Regions from separate parts of the Homo sapiens genome. Here all the other regions are linked to region 4. The links are contacts of gene promoters, found by promoter capture Hi-C in blood cells and fetal thymus (Javierre and others, 2016). All regions are on one chromosome and are shown on one strand. The core of a region is centred on a gene start or on the middle of the fragment in contact, and the rest is flanking DNA. Distances in the headings are between cores, read along the strand shown.

Region 1 (2,700 bases), core at 26-2,525, 1.4 Mb after region 4:
AGTCTCTAGCCTGCAGGCTGGGGGCTGGGTATGGACACGATACCTGGAAGGGAACACATATAACTTCCATCAGTGATCCTGGAAAGGCTCGACAAATCACCCATTCATTCATTCTGTGTGTATGTGTGTGTGTGTGAGAGAGAGAGAGAGAGACAGAGTCTCACTCTGTCACCCAGGCTGGAATGCAGTGGTGCAATCTCGGCTCACTGCAACCTCTATCTCCCAAGTTCAAGTGATTCTCCCATCTCAGCCCCCCGAGTAGCTGGGATTACAGGAGCCCGCCACCACTCCCGGCTAATTTTTGTATTTTTAGTAGAGACAAGGTTTCACCAAGTTGGCCAGGCTGGTCTCGAACTCCTGACCTCAGGTGATCCGCCCACCTTGGCTTCCCAAAGTGCTGGGATTACAGGCATGAACCACAGCACCTGGCCCATTCATTCATTTTTATTTGAACTTCTCTTCCAGGAAGCCCTCTGAGTTTAGGTTTAGCGACAGGACCCTGATTCAAGTCAACTCGTTTATTTGAAAGCTGCCTGGATAAAAATAAAATAAAATAAAAAATAAACTGGAGGATAACATAAAAGGATCCTTGCAGAGGATTCCTCCTTTTGTGGATCTCACTGAATCTCAGAGTTAGAAGACGCTCAGAGATCTCAACTCCCTCAAGGGTCAGACAAGGACAGGTTTTTCATTCTGCCCTGGATCCTCTCACAATAGCCTCGCGGGAGCTGGCCCTCAAAATGATGAAGGAATAAATGAAAGGAGGGATGGAGAAATTAATGATGAAGAAAAAATGAATGAGGTAGGGCTGCTTGTTTGCTGCTATTTTCTTCACAATGCTTTTAAGATTTCCTGGTCCATCTCCTCCTTCACCACTTCTCTCCCTCCCTCGATCTCTTCTCCAACTTGTCTCTTACAGAAGGGCGCCGCGTTCCCGCGCTCCTCCCCTTCCCCTCGCCCCGCCCCTCCCCAGCGAGGCCCCGCCTCGCTGCCCGAGCCCGGCGGGAATGAATGGCAGCGTAGCCGCCGCGCCGCTCGGGGTGCCGATTGGCTGACCGGCGCGCTGACGCGCCGGCGACCGCGGGTGCACGCAGGCGAACAGAGCCGGCGGGGGCGGAGCCGGGCTCCGGGGCGGGGCGCAGGAGCCCCGGGGCGGAGGAGCCGGGGAGGCGGGAGGCGGGAGGCGGGAGGTGTTGGGGCCGTTGAAGCGGCCTCCCTCCCGCCCCCAGCCGCCCGGTCTGGCCCCAGCCCTGTCCCGACCCCCGGCCTGGCCCACTCCGACCCTACCCGGCCGAAGGGTTCCGCTGGACACGCAGGCGGCCTCCGGAGCAGCCCAAGCCCATGAGGGCCGCGCGCCCGGCCGCCGGTGCTGACGAGACGGAGCTCCTGGCCCCCGAGGAGGAGCAGAGGATCAATGCGGTTCAAGAATCGATTCCAGCGGTGAGAGGGATGGCGTCCCGGTCCCGCTGCCCGTGTCAGAAGCGGGTTCCCAAATCCCGCCGTTAAGCGCACGGCTCCCGGCTCCTCACCTGGATTCATCCTGGGTGGATCCCGCACCTTGGCCAGGGATCAGTTCCCTGGGGATTCCCCACCCTGCTGTCCCTGGGCGATCCCCTTCCTCCAAGGATGGGAGCTCCTGCCTCACCCGGGTCTCCCCTCGCGATCTGCGGACCTCAGATGGATTCCCGGCCCCGGGACTCCAAGCCTGTCCTCCTTCCCGGGGATCCCTTTGCTCCTGGGGCTCACCCTCCCGACCCCCATACAGGCTGGGCTCTGGCTCTCTCTGGGAACCCGAACCCCAGCCCCGGGCACCGCCCCCGAGTCCTCCGACCTGGCTTTGGCCTCCATCCCTTTACCTCCAGGGTGGGGGTCTCCCGGGGCGCGCGGAACGGGGTGGCGCCCTGCGGAGAGATTTGTCGTAAAGCGGGGTGCTAGGCATTTTGGGTGCTTTGTGAACGGCCCTAGCAACAGGGAAACTGAGGCACGCTCCGCCAGCTTAGCCCTGCCTGGCCGTGTAGGGGCCTTGCTGGTTCTCCAGCTGAACGTCCCAGGGCGGTGCTATTTTTGGGCTCTGCGAAGGGGCATGTTAGCTTTCGGGTGGCGAGACCTGCTGTGGAGGCGCCGGTGTTAGGAAACGAGGAGGAGGAACCGTGGAGGCGCCACCGGAAGGCTGGCCGACTGCTCATTCACTGTAGAGCTGGTGGAAATGCCGGGCTGGGGGGCGCCGTGGCCTTACTCCCCTCTGGGGCTCCACCGTCTAACAATGGATGGAGGTTAGCCCATGACTCTGAGAGGAACTCCGGGCTTTTCTTTTCTGTTTAAGTGGGTGAAAGTTCACCTCTCCAGGGCATATGGTAACTGCATCCCTTTGTGTGAATTCCCGGACCTTCACCACCAGCATGTTTGCTGGGGGTGCAGTGACAGGGGAAATTTTAAGAAATGCATGAAATCTTCCAAGAAGGTTGTTGAGTTTTTAGACACTACCTTTTATTTCAGAATTTTAAAGTACACATTTTTTTTTTCTTTCCAATCTCCATGCCCTCACTGCCCTCTCACCCATCTCATTCCTCCCCCAGTCCCAAAGGGTAAAGGAGGCAACAAATGCACAGAAGAGTTGCCATGGTCTGGGCCACCAGGAAGGGGATCAGCTTGAAGACTTGGATTGACTTCTGAATATATTGCTTATCAGTCAGGGTGTTG
Region 2 (2,700 bases), core at 43-2,542, 1.2 Mb before region 4:
GAATTCTCCAGCCATATTTTTATTGTCTATGGGGGAAGTTGGAGATGGTGACCTTGATTAGAAGTGTCTGGAGGGGGATAAATGGAGGGGATAAGATTCAGTTGGTTTTGGAAAATGTTAAAGTCTTAAAATAATGCGTCCATCTGAAGAATTTTTTCTAAAACCAGAGTTTATAAAAATATCACTGATACAGCCTGCCCCCTCATTTCCCTGCCACAGGAGATGTCTTGGACTAGAGACACTTGTTTAATAATAGCTTGTCTCTGATATTCCCAGTAGCTTCCCTCTGTGTGAGGAAAGGATAGAAATGTTCAGGACATCATCATACAGGCTCCTCATCTACAAAGTTCCAGTAGCAGTGACGCCTACACGGAAGACTTGGAACTGCAAACAGGCTGGGGTCACCTCAGTGACATCTGACGCTGTCCAACCAGAAGTTCGATTTTTGTTCTGGGGGTGAAGGAGGAAACAGACTGTACTAAAGGACTAAAATAATTTGTCTATACTATCTCACTTGTTTTTATTTTTGGCGGGAGAGGAGGGGTGTTGGGATAGAATTTCACATCCTATCTTGGAGTGAAGGGGAGGATGGGGAGGCTCAGCCCTTCACCCAAGAATAACCCAGTAATGACATCTCTACGCGTGGGAAGTGTTTCCCTCCACACTGAGAGGATCTGAGGCTGCACCCCAGTGGGATTCCCTGCTTGAGTTGGAAGGCCATCTCGCCATGAGATGCATATCATAGCGAGAGCGCAGAGGGCTTAGCCGGCCGGGGAGGAAATGCCAAAAGGAAGAGAGGCTCGAAGTCGAAAGGGCTTCCCCCAGTTTGGAGGTGGGGACCATGCTGTGCATGAGCGACTGAAGAGCCGAGTGTCCGCCGTGGCCTGTGCCCTCCGCTGAGGGTCTAACAGGGACGCGACGGTGCTGGACACCGTGTCTGAGTCACGGGAGACGGCCCAGCTGTGCCCAGCGGGCCAGCGCCAGACCCTGGCGTCCTCCATCTTCTCTCCTGAGCTCCCCCTGCTCCAGCTGCCTGAGCCACGGACCGCAGCACCACACACCCCCGCGGGGGGGGACGCCGCGCCCCATCCCCGCCCCGGGCCCCACCCCAGCCCCCCCGCGGGGGCCCTGACCCCACCGCCAGCGGGCACTGGCTGAGCTCCGAGGCGGCGAGCCGGCAGCGGGGACGCCCAGAGGGGGTCCGGGCGACTGGGGGCGGCGGCGGCCGGGCCGGGGCTCCCCCCCCGCCCGCGCTCGCCGCCGCGGTGGTGCGTCCCGGAGGTTACCGGAAGTGGCCGCGCTCGGCGCTGCCATGTTGAGGAGCCGCCGCTGCCGTTGCCGCCGCCGCCGCCGCCGCTTTGTTGTCGCCTCCTCCGGCTGAGGAGGCTCCCCGAGCGGGGGGAGTGGGGAGGAGGGGGGTCGGCCGCCGCAGCCATGGAGGCCAACTGGACCGCGTTCCTGTTCCAGGTACTGGGGGCCCCCCCGGGGGGGCACGGGGGGGACAGGGGGGCCGGGCCCCGGGCTGGCGGGCGGGCGGGCGCTCCTCCTCCCCTCCCTCCCGGCTCCGCTCTCCGGCCCGGCCTTAATCCCCCTTTGTTTTTCCGCCCGCCCGCCCCGGCGAAGCGGGGCTGCTGAGGTGAAAGGAGGCGGCCTCACGGGGTGCGGGGGAGATAGCAGGCCGCGGGGTGAACCCGGGGGCCCCCCAGCACACACACGCACACACACACACTCACACACACCCTTCCCTCTCGCTCTGAAGGGGAAGGGAGGAGGCCGGTCGCTGTCACCACCCCGCGGCCCAGAGAAAGGAGGGCGCCGGGCCGCTGGATAGCGCGGGCTGCTGGGCCATTGCGTGCCGGCCCGGTCCCCCACGGTGGGGTGAGGAGGTCCCCAGGTCCTGCCCTGAGTCTCCTCCCCGCCACTTCATCCATCTTTCGCTTGTTCTCTTTTCACCTTCCTCGTCTTTTTGTGTGTGTGCGTGCGTGTGTTGACTTTCTGACCCCCTCCCGTGTCCCCGCGAATAGCGGGTATCCCCAGGTTCCCCGCCACTCCCCCTCACCGCCACCACCCCTCTCGTGTTTACCCAGTTGGGGGGGCGGATGTTGTGAGTGTGTATCCCCTCCCCAAACTTTTTCACTGGATTTACATTTTTTTTTCCCAAGTCTCAGCCGAGCCTTGGCAGCTGACACCTTCTCCCTCTGTCCAGCTCTCCCGCCGTCCCATTCAGCCTGGGGAATCCCCCAGCCGGGCCGGCCCGGGGCAGGCGGGGAGCGGTGGGGGCCGGGACTCCTGGAGGCCCGACCTTCTCCCGAAGCGCTTTTCTTTCTCGCCCACCTCGAACGTTTCCTCCAACCAAGTGGAGAGAGCAAACAAAGTCCGCTTACAAAGCCCCCAGATGAGTCACTCTCTGGGATGTTGGTCTTCGCTTTTTTGCAAGAAACTTGAAAGTGACTGTAGCCGATGTGTTTTGGCAATTCTCTTGCCCGCCCACTTTAGATGGGGGACCCCTGTTTGGCAGATCTAGGCTGGAACTTATTTTTTTCCTACTTCGTTTCTGTTTGCAAAACGAAGCATTCAGTGGGCAGTAGCGATGAGCTCACGGGGAAACTTCGGAACTGGAGGAGGTTAGGAAGCTCGTCACTTTTAAGTGCGTTCTTCCCGCCTCTCTGAGTTATTTTCCTTTGAATACTTCGTGAAATC
Region 3 (2,700 bases), core at 174-2,673, 1.1 Mb after region 4:
GGGACTGGATAATTCTTCCCCGGGAGAGGTATGGGGTCACTGTCCTGTGCATTGTAGAGTTATTTACAGCTATCAAATTTTCACACATATCTGACAGATTGGATTTGAACCCCCTAACAACCCTGCAATGAGACAGGCAGAGTTTTCATTCCTGCAATGAGACAGGCAGAGTTTTCATTCCTGTTTAACAGGTGAGCAACTTCTAAATATTGCAAACGTTTGTTTTCTGTTTTAAAATATAAAAACACTATATTTGATGTAAACAAAAATGCAAGTGCCTAAAAAGGCAACCACATGTTTGACATTCACAAGATCATGAACCCTCCAATCCCACCTCTGCTATTCACTTATCTGGGCCATTTCAGGAGTGACTTCACCCTTGAGGCCTGTTGCTTTCACCTATGAAACCTGGGGTTTAACCAGGTGAGCATGAGGTATCCTCCTAACTCTAACACTATAATATCCTGGTCCTGTATTAGGAAACTTCAGTTTCACCCACATTACCTGCAGGCGACTTTTAACCTACTTGCCATGCTGCGACTATTACACAAAGCAACTGATGACAAGCCTTGGATGACAGGCCTCAGGGGCAATGCCTTCCACCTGGATGGCTACCTGATTCCAAAGACTTCAACAACCAATCCCATTCCTCCTACATCTTTACTCCTGCCTGAAGATTCGGACTCAACTTATTAAGAGCAACTTGGAAGGAAGGGGCAACAACCAAAAGAAACGAGTCACTAAAACAGTAGGGCCCTTCTCGGCAACCCCTGACACCACCCTGCACATCCAGTCCTTGAAAAGTTCTGTTTCTTTTCCTCCTATATCCAAGCCCTAAGATACCGCCCCTCCCCCACCCCAGCCCCCATATGCCACTGACACGCATTGGAGAGTGAGGATCAACGTCCCTTGCAGACGTGTGCACGGGCCTAGGAACCAGCTGACCCACGTTTCAACTGTCATTAACTTCTAACTACATGCCCCGTCGGGCCTGACCTGAGGCTGAACTCCTGTGACCTTCCAACTCCCCTGGATCTGCACGGCAGTCACTTGGAGGCACCGCCCCTGCGCTAGCTCCAGAGCTTGAGACAGGGTCCGGGCGGAGCTCCTTCCTGAGCCGGAGAAGACGCGCCCCTGTCCCTTCCGCGACTGCCGCCCCGCACTCCCTGCGGGGAGGTCGACCCCGGCGCATTCTAGGCCCCGCGGTCCTCCAGCGGGTTGGCCGCTACCTTGTCCAGCAGCCGGTAGATGCTGATGCCCGAGGTCTCCACTAGGAGCTGCCAGTCGGCCCCGGCCAGAGCGGGCTGCTGGAGCTCGGCGCAGGCCTCCCAGAACTGCTCCTCCGAGAAGCTTCCGGCGGCCAGCTCCATCCTTCCGCAGTCCGGGCTCCTCCGCCTGGAGGGCAGGCCGCGGACACCCTTAGTGTGGGCCTGGGGGCGGGGTGACCGGGCTGCCCCGGCTGCCCCGGCTGCCCCAGCGTCATTGGCAGGAAACTGAGGAGAAGGCGGGGCCTAGACTGGAGGAGCGGCCTGAGGGTGGGGCCCTGGAGGGGCGGGCCTAGAAAAGCGGGCGGGGCTGAGCAAGGAGTGAGGAGGATAGACAAGAAGTAAAAGGAGAAAAATTGGACTTGATGTGGGGAAGGAAGGAAGAGCTGGAGAAGTAAGGAGGCTTCCAGAGGGAAGGGAAAAAGGAAGGGAGACAGTGATGTCACCTCAAAAACAGCTCCTCAGTAGCCTATCCCATACTCCCTGCTACTCCCATAACCTACAGACCTGTTTGAGTGTCTCTCATTTACCTTTCTGAATAAAGTAGAGAAAGTCTCTTTGGTAGACATGAGAGGAGAGGTGGGCAGAGTAGAAATGCTGGAAAAATCCTAAGGGGTCAAATGCCAGAAGTGTATTTCAATATAATTTCTCTTCTTTCTGCTATACATTGTAAAACATTATTCTGAGACGAGGTCCATTGGATTCCCCAGAAGACTCTAGGGGTTCATAACACCAAAACAGTTTAGAAACCTAATCCATAATGGATCTACAAGGTTGTTGCCACCCTTGAGGGTAGAAACTGATCTGAAAGGTGTCGTACTATCCACCTAGGATTTCTGCAACTTGCATAATTTAGCTCACTGTGCAACTCAAACATCTTCTTGTTCCTTTGAAGTCCCTTGAGTAATACTGTATTTCCCACCAGCAGACTGTACTACCTGACTTTGAATAAAGTAGGTCGTTTGAACATCAAAACGATGTAACAGCCACGTGAGTGCCAATAAACTCTGGAAACTCATGTTTCCTAATCTGTAAAATGGGTCAAGAATTGTGCTACCAGTTACAGCTGAGGAGGTGGTTGGACAAGGAATAATTTTCCACAGTGCCCGTCCAAGTAAATGTTCAATAACAATTTCCACTTGTTTTGCATTACTATATTGAAATGCTTTTCTTTCCTTACTTGAAAGAAAGTTGATGGCAAAGTCTTAATTTATGTGATTTTCCAATCAGGCAAATGATCACATTTGGCAGCTTGCTTAGTTAGACACAGCAGAGATAAATAATTGCTTTCCTCAAGTCAGTCCTGGTTCTGTTTGGCTTTATAGGTGTGGAAAGAGGGATGTGAAATTTTCCTAGACTAAATGCACAAAAGTTTAGGCTAGACATACTTTCCCACTGTTTTATAACTCCTTGTAAATTTTCTATGTATTGTAAA
Region 4 (2,700 bases), core at 130-2,629:
GGCGCATTCTGGGACAGTGAGTGTCCACGAAGACCATACCTGTAATCGCAAAGCTTGGGTTGACAGCCACACTGCTGCTTGCAAACCATACAGTAACTGCACAGGGGCACGTTGCCCCGGATCCAGTGGTGGGGCATGGCGTCCAGGACCTTGGTGTCATTCTTGAGCATAATCTCCTTGCACTGGAAGCGCTTGTCGGCCTTCCTGAGGCAGCCCTCGTCCACGCGGAGCCCGCAGCAGTCGCAGAAGGCGCCCTGCAGAATGTGCTGCGCGCACACGCAGCAGTAGGTGGGCTGGCTGAACAGGTCCGTGTCGCGCCACCCGTGCTTGCTCTTGCGGAAGATGTCCCTGCGGTGCAGCTGCCGGCGCGACCGCTGGAGGCTACACCAGAAGGTGATGAACACCGGCAGCAGGACCGAGCACAGCGTCCACAAGATCAGGTGCCCGTCCGCAAACAGGCCCTCGGAGGGCGAGCCCGGCGCCGGCCGCCTCTCCGCTTCCATCTTCTCCAAGGACGATACCTAACCAGAAAAGAAACAGGCGGTGCACCCCGAGCTCGCCATCCCTTCCCCGCCCCCTTCCTGCCTTTCCGGGGCCAAACCGGGCGCCCTCAGTGAAGGTGGCTCCGCTCTCCCGAGGGCGGGACTGCGCCTCGTCCCCCCGTCTCCCGGGACCTGCCGCGCCGAGAAGGCGACGTCCAGCCATCACGCTCCAATCCCCACTCCCCAACCCGCCCCACCTCGGGAGCGCGTCCAGGAGCCCAAGGCGGCTGCTGCTGCCGCCGCCGCCTCACCTTGCCGCCGGTCTGACCCACGGAAGGGCGCAACATACAGGGGCAAGCTGCCCTCCACCGAAAGGCCGGGCGTTCAGGCCAGGCAACGCCGGTCGGCGCCCGTAACCGTCGGCCCAGGCCTCGCACTCCCCTCCGGGGCGCCGTCTCCTCCCGGGCCCCACCCGCTCCCACGCGCGGCCCGGCGACCCTAGCCCCTCTCGGGAGGCCTCCGGAGACCTGCGCCGCGCCGGTCCTCGAAGCCCTACCTCGCGCGGGTGGAGGCGCGGCTCCGGGCCAGCAGGCCTTGGCCGCCTCGCGCAGGAGGAGAACGACGCTGGGCCGCCAGCAGGGATGAAGCCGGGCGGGGGAAACGCTTAAGGCTCCAGCCGCACGCACGCCGATCCGGCGCGCGGGGCCGCGAGCTGGAGGCGGGGCCTGTGGCGGCGAGCCCCGTGGCTGGGCGGAGCCAGGGCTGACGGGCGGGGCGGAGGTGTGAGGTGGGAGGGGAGACGGACCGGCCTGAGGGGGCGGGGCCGTGGAGGAGGCTGGAGACGGATGGAAGAGGCAGGGCACTGCGGCTGGGGGCGGGGCCTAGGGGAAGGGGGCGGAGTAACAGTGGGGCGTTTGAGAGGATGGAGGGTTGAATGCCAAAACTTCGTAATCGTAGAAAATTCTGGAAAGCCGCCGGCGGGGCAAGGCCACGAGGATCCTCCTCGCAGCACCGCGCCGCGCGGGGCCCAGGGGCCGCGCTCACGCCCGCCGCTCGGCGCAGACACGAGTGCCCCCGACTTGAGCCGAACCTCTAGCCGATGCCGGCGCCGCCGCCGCCGGGGATGCGTAAGCCGACTGGGAAGCGAGGGGGGGAGGCGGCCTGCGCGGCACCGCCCGACCTGGCCGCGGCGGGCTGAGGTAGGTGTGGCGGCCGCAGTAACGCAAACCTGAGGGCTCCTCCGCTGCGGAGCGGCGGGCGGGCGCGGAGGCCGAGGGCGAGCGGGGCAGCCGCCCGCTCGTCGCCGCTGACCCCGAGCCCGGCCGCGGTTTCCGCCCCCTGCCGTGGCGGGCGGGCCTCCCCTGCGCTACCCCCTCGCCCGCGCCCGCCAGCGCCCGAGGCCGGGGAGAAAGGGGAGCAGCGGGAGCCGGGGACTACCGGAGATGGGAGCACGCCTCCTGCTGCTGTCGTCCAGCCCCAGGTTCCGGAGGAATGCTCGCTCCCCGCTGGAGTCCTACCAGCCCAACACGGACCTGAGCCGCGACCACGCGGGCTGCAGCCTGCAGCACATCAGCTACCCGGAGAACGCGGACGCGGAAGCACCGCTGCTCAGCACCCCCGAAGAAACACGGAATCCAGAGAGGCACAGGCACCGCCCCGGCGCGCACAGCTGCACTCAGCGGCTTCCTTCCTACTACATACATACATAGGAGTGGGAGCCGAGGACCACTTGTTGCTTGCGGACTTCCTCTAGCATAAAAGATGGAAAGAAAACACACACCGAAGCAAGGGACCAAAGGAACAGAAAAGAAACGCAGAGATCATAGGAAAACTGCAAAGAAATACTTGATAATATCTTCCAAACGATTAGAGAAGACATAACATTCATTAAGAATACACATATAGATGTATATATACGTGTATGTGTGTATGTATATATTATTATGTGTGCATATATATGCATGTGTATGTGCGTATATTTGTATTAACTGTAGAAGATAAAGCTAGACACTAGTAAAAGTGGTAAAGCAGATTTTAATAATATACTATTGTAATAGGGAAGAAGGTACCTCGTGAACGGAACTGAACTTTGTGCAGAAGTGACTAGGTGTTTAAGAGGGAGGAGGAGGGAATGTGAAGGGGATGAGCAGGAACTCAGTAGTCAGGAAAGTGAAACTTGTGAAGGGTGGGTCAGTGTAAGTAAGGTTAGGCGACAGTG
Region 5 (2,700 bases), core at 42-2,541, 1.7 Mb before region 4:
TGAGGACAATGCTGGTACGTACCCACATGCAGGACCTGAAGGATGTGACACGGGAGACACATTATGAGAACTACCGGGCACAGTGCATCCAGAGCATGACCCGCCTGGTGGTGAAGGAACGGAATCGCAAGTATGACCAGAAGCCAGGACAAAGCTGGCAGGGGGAGATCCCAAGCCTAGCCTTGGGTGAGACCAAGCCCTACTTTTGTTCTTCTATAGGCCCTGGGCTCAATCTAAGCGGGTGCTGGGGTCCTCCTCGCCTTATCAACCCTTTTCTCCCTTTAGCAAACTGACTCGGGAAAGTGGTACCGACTTCCCCATCCCTGCTGTCCCACCAGGGACAGATCCAGAAACTGAGAAGCTTATCCGAGAGAAAGATGAGGAGGTGAGAGCAGTATGGGGTATAGGGGAGGTCTCCTGTTTGATCACCAACGTTGGTATCTCTTTGTTTGGTAATAGAAAGATCCCTGGCTCTGGTGCATATTTGGGTCCTGGATAGGTCAATAGGTGGTTCTGTCCAGAGTCTCCATCACACCTCACGGCTACCAAGGTTCTGGCTTAAGGGATTAGAAATTTGGGGCACTTTCCCAATACTAAAGGACTCTCCAAAAGTCCCCATTTTGATGCCTGTGCCTATTCCAGCTGCGGCGGATGCAGGAGATGCTACACAAAATACAAAAACAGATGAAGGAGAACTATTAACTGGCTTTCAGCCCTGGATATTTAAATCTCCTCCTCTTCTTCCTGTCCATGCCGGCCCCTCCCAGCACCAGCTCTGCTCAGGCCCCTTCAGCTACTGCCACTTCGCCTTACATCCCTGCTGACTGCCCAGAGACTCAGAGGAAATAAAGTTTAATAAATCTGTAGGTGGCTTCTGGTGTCCCTGTGTGTATTTTTATGACCTGGAGATCAAGATCCTGGGACCCAGTTTTGAAAGGCTAATGGTAGAAGATGTTGGTTTCTGGCTTTTAGTAGGGAAGGGAGAGTGGGGAAAACTTTCCACTTCCTTTCCCCTTCTAAGTCCCTGCTTAGAATCCAGCCTGGCTTCTCCATCTTGACGATCATATCTATCATGCCTCTGTTATCTGGGGTCTGGGTCTCTCTCCATCTTTCACACATACAGTACCTTTGGTAATAAAAAGATTCCTACCTGTGGTGCATATTTGGGTCCTGGATAGGTCAACAGGTGGTTCTGTCCAGAGTCTCCCATCACACCTCAGGGCTACCAAGGTCCTGGCTTAAGGGATTAGAAATTTGGGGCACTTCTCCTGGCTAAGGAGAAAGTGAAACCCTGTCTCTACTAAAAATACAAAATAGCCGGGCGTGGTGGCGGGCGCCTGTAGTCCCAGCTACTCGGGAGGCTGAGGCAGGAGAATGGCTGAACCCGGGAGGCGGAGCTTGAAGTGAGCTGAGATGGCGCCACTGCACTCCAGCCTGGGTGACAGGGCGAGACTCCGTCTCAAAAAAAAAAAAGAAAAATAAAAAGAAAAAGAAATTTGGGGCACTTCCCCAATATTAAAGGACTGTCCAAAAGTCCCCCCTGCCCTTTTTTTTTTTGAGGCGGAGTCTCGCTCTGTCGCCCAGGCTGGAGTGCAACGGCGCTATCTCGGCTCACTGCAAGCTCCGTAGCTGGGACTACAAGACTCCGTAGCTGGGACTACAGGCGCCCGCCACCACGCCCGACTAATTTTTTGTATTTTTAGTAGAGACGGGGTTTCACCGTGTTAGCCAGGATGACCTCGATCTCCTGACCTTGAGATCCGCCCGCCTCGGCCCCCCAAGGTGCTGGGATTACAGGCATGAGCCACCGCGCCCGGCCCAAAAGGCCCCATTTTGATGCCTGTGCGTATTCCAGCTGCGGCGGACGCAGTTTTGTATTTGATACCTGCCCTTGGGAAAACACAAGGTATTAACTGCGTGCAACCTCCTGACTTTCTGTTTCCCCTGATCTGGGAAAAGGGATAGGCAGGTTAAGCTCTACACTGTAGAAAGCCTGTGATAGAGCTTTGAACAAATGCTGCAGCCATTGTAATCACCAAACACTATAGTAAGTGCTGGGAATGAATAAAAACACAATCACCGTCCTACAGGAGTTCAGTATTTAATTAAAAAATTTACAGCATCTGCTAGATTGCAGGCTGTTCTAGACCCTGGAGTTCAAGTAGTGCAAAGTTCCTGTCTTCCTGGAACTTACCAACAGTACTGGAGTTTCAACGTTCTATAAACAAAGATGGGTGAGGACATTAGCCCCGGGCTAATTAAAGCGCTCAGGCCCGCTCCAGACCTGAGAATATCAGCTGAATCTGAATCAACTGTTCTCCATTTCTGTCGGTTGGTGGTATCGCGGGGCCACGGCGACCTCCAGCGGCCACCCTCCGTCTTGTGGTCTGTTCTGGGTCCCCGGGAAGGAAAGGGAGGGGCGATAAGCCGGGTCCTTGGGAGCGTCCTGGTCTCCCTTCGCTTTACAGACTAGGAGGCCGCAGCTAGCTGGCAGTCTCAGATCCAGGTTTCCCATCTCTGGGATGAGAGGAGAGTTCTTCACTCAGGACTGCCAGCGCAATGCAGGTCGTGAAGAACTGCAGGGTCGTTTATCGATACAAAGTGAGTGTTGGAGGAACCCATCAAGACACAGGAAGGGGGAAATCCTAGCGCCGCCAGTCGGAGATGACCAAGACTGAACCTCAGGCCCAGCCCTCCCTT

Evidence for each region. The method cuts DNA at HindIII sites, captures the fragments that hold promoters and counts their contacts. A CHiCAGO score of 5 or more calls a contact.
Region 1: the fragment with the promoter of MMD here is called in contact with the fragment with the promoter of C17orf67 in region 4 in 1 of 17 cell types (non-activated CD4 T cells); the score reaches 8.6 in non-activated CD4 T cells.
Region 2: a contact is called between the fragment with the promoter of VEZF1 here and the fragment with the promoter of C17orf67 in region 4, in 7 of 17 cell types (neutrophils, naive CD8 T cells, fetal thymus and 4 more). The highest score is 11.8, in neutrophils.
Region 3: a contact is called between the fragment with the promoter of PCTP here and the fragment with the promoter of C17orf67 in region 4, in 1 of 17 cell types (naive CD4 T cells). The highest score is 5.5, in naive CD4 T cells.
Region 5: the fragment with the promoter of SEPTIN4-AS1 here is called in contact with the fragment with the promoter of C17orf67 in region 4 in 4 of 17 cell types (non-activated CD4 T cells, activated CD4 T cells, total CD4 T cells and 1 more); the score reaches 7.4 in non-activated CD4 T cells.

Annotation. Positions count from the first base shown.
Region 1 is chr17:55,420,410-55,423,109 of GRCh38, reverse strand. MMD (monocyte to macrophage differentiation associated) reads left to right here and starts at 1,275. Exons shown (of 7, transcript NM_012329.3): 1 at 1,275-1,440. The coding sequence starts at 1,415. RefSeq lists a silencer at 875-1,334. The HindIII fragment of the contact is 12,161 bases long and covers 1-2,700 here.
Region 2 is chr17:57,986,846-57,989,545 of GRCh38, reverse strand. VEZF1 (vascular endothelial zinc finger 1) reads left to right here and starts at 1,292. Exons shown (of 6, transcript NM_007146.3): 1 at 1,292-1,467. The coding sequence starts at 1,435. It overlaps LOC101929185 (a long non-coding RNA gene), which reads right to left and starts at 1,436. Exons shown (of 1, transcript XR_001752716.3): 1 at 1-1,436. It also overlaps a transcript of SRSF1 not described here. RefSeq lists enhancers at 690-829, 850-899 and silencers at 1,050-1,329, 1,400-1,879, 1,960-2,029. The HindIII fragment of the contact is 4,468 bases long and covers 1-2,700 here.
Region 3 is chr17:55,749,774-55,752,473 of GRCh38, reverse strand. It overlaps PCTP (phosphatidylcholine transfer protein), which reads right to left and starts at 1,423. Exons shown (of 6, transcript NM_021213.4): 1 at 1,230-1,423. The coding sequence starts at 1,370. RefSeq lists a silencer at 1,286-1,625. The HindIII fragment of the contact is 1,470 bases long and covers 1,353-2,700 here.
Region 4 is chr17:56,832,599-56,835,298 of GRCh38, reverse strand. C17orf67 (chromosome 17 open reading frame 67) reads left to right here and starts at 1,379. Exons shown (of 8, transcript NM_001085430.4): 1 at 1,379-1,681; 2 at 1,957-2,401. It overlaps DGKE (diacylglycerol kinase epsilon), which reads right to left and starts at 1,148. Exons shown (of 12, transcript NM_003647.3): 1 at 1,039-1,148; 2 at 40-521. The coding sequence starts at 503. RefSeq lists enhancers at 1-292, 24-423, 892-1,489 and silencers at 814-1,883, 1,857-2,151. The HindIII fragment of the contact is 8,035 bases long and covers 56-2,700 here.
Region 5 is chr17:58,518,428-58,521,127 of GRCh38, reverse strand. It overlaps SEPTIN4-AS1 (SEPTIN4 antisense RNA 1), which reads right to left and starts at 1,291. Exons shown (of 5, transcript NR_110810.1): 1 at 1,151-1,291. It overlaps SEPTIN4 (septin 4), which reads left to right. Exons shown (of 14, transcript NM_001368771.2): 12 at 1-130; 13 at 286-385; 14 at 643-872. The coding sequence ends at 702. It also overlaps a transcript of MTMR4 not described here. RefSeq lists enhancers at 2,540-2,639, 1,987-2,700. The HindIII fragment of the contact is 4,387 bases long and covers 364-2,700 here.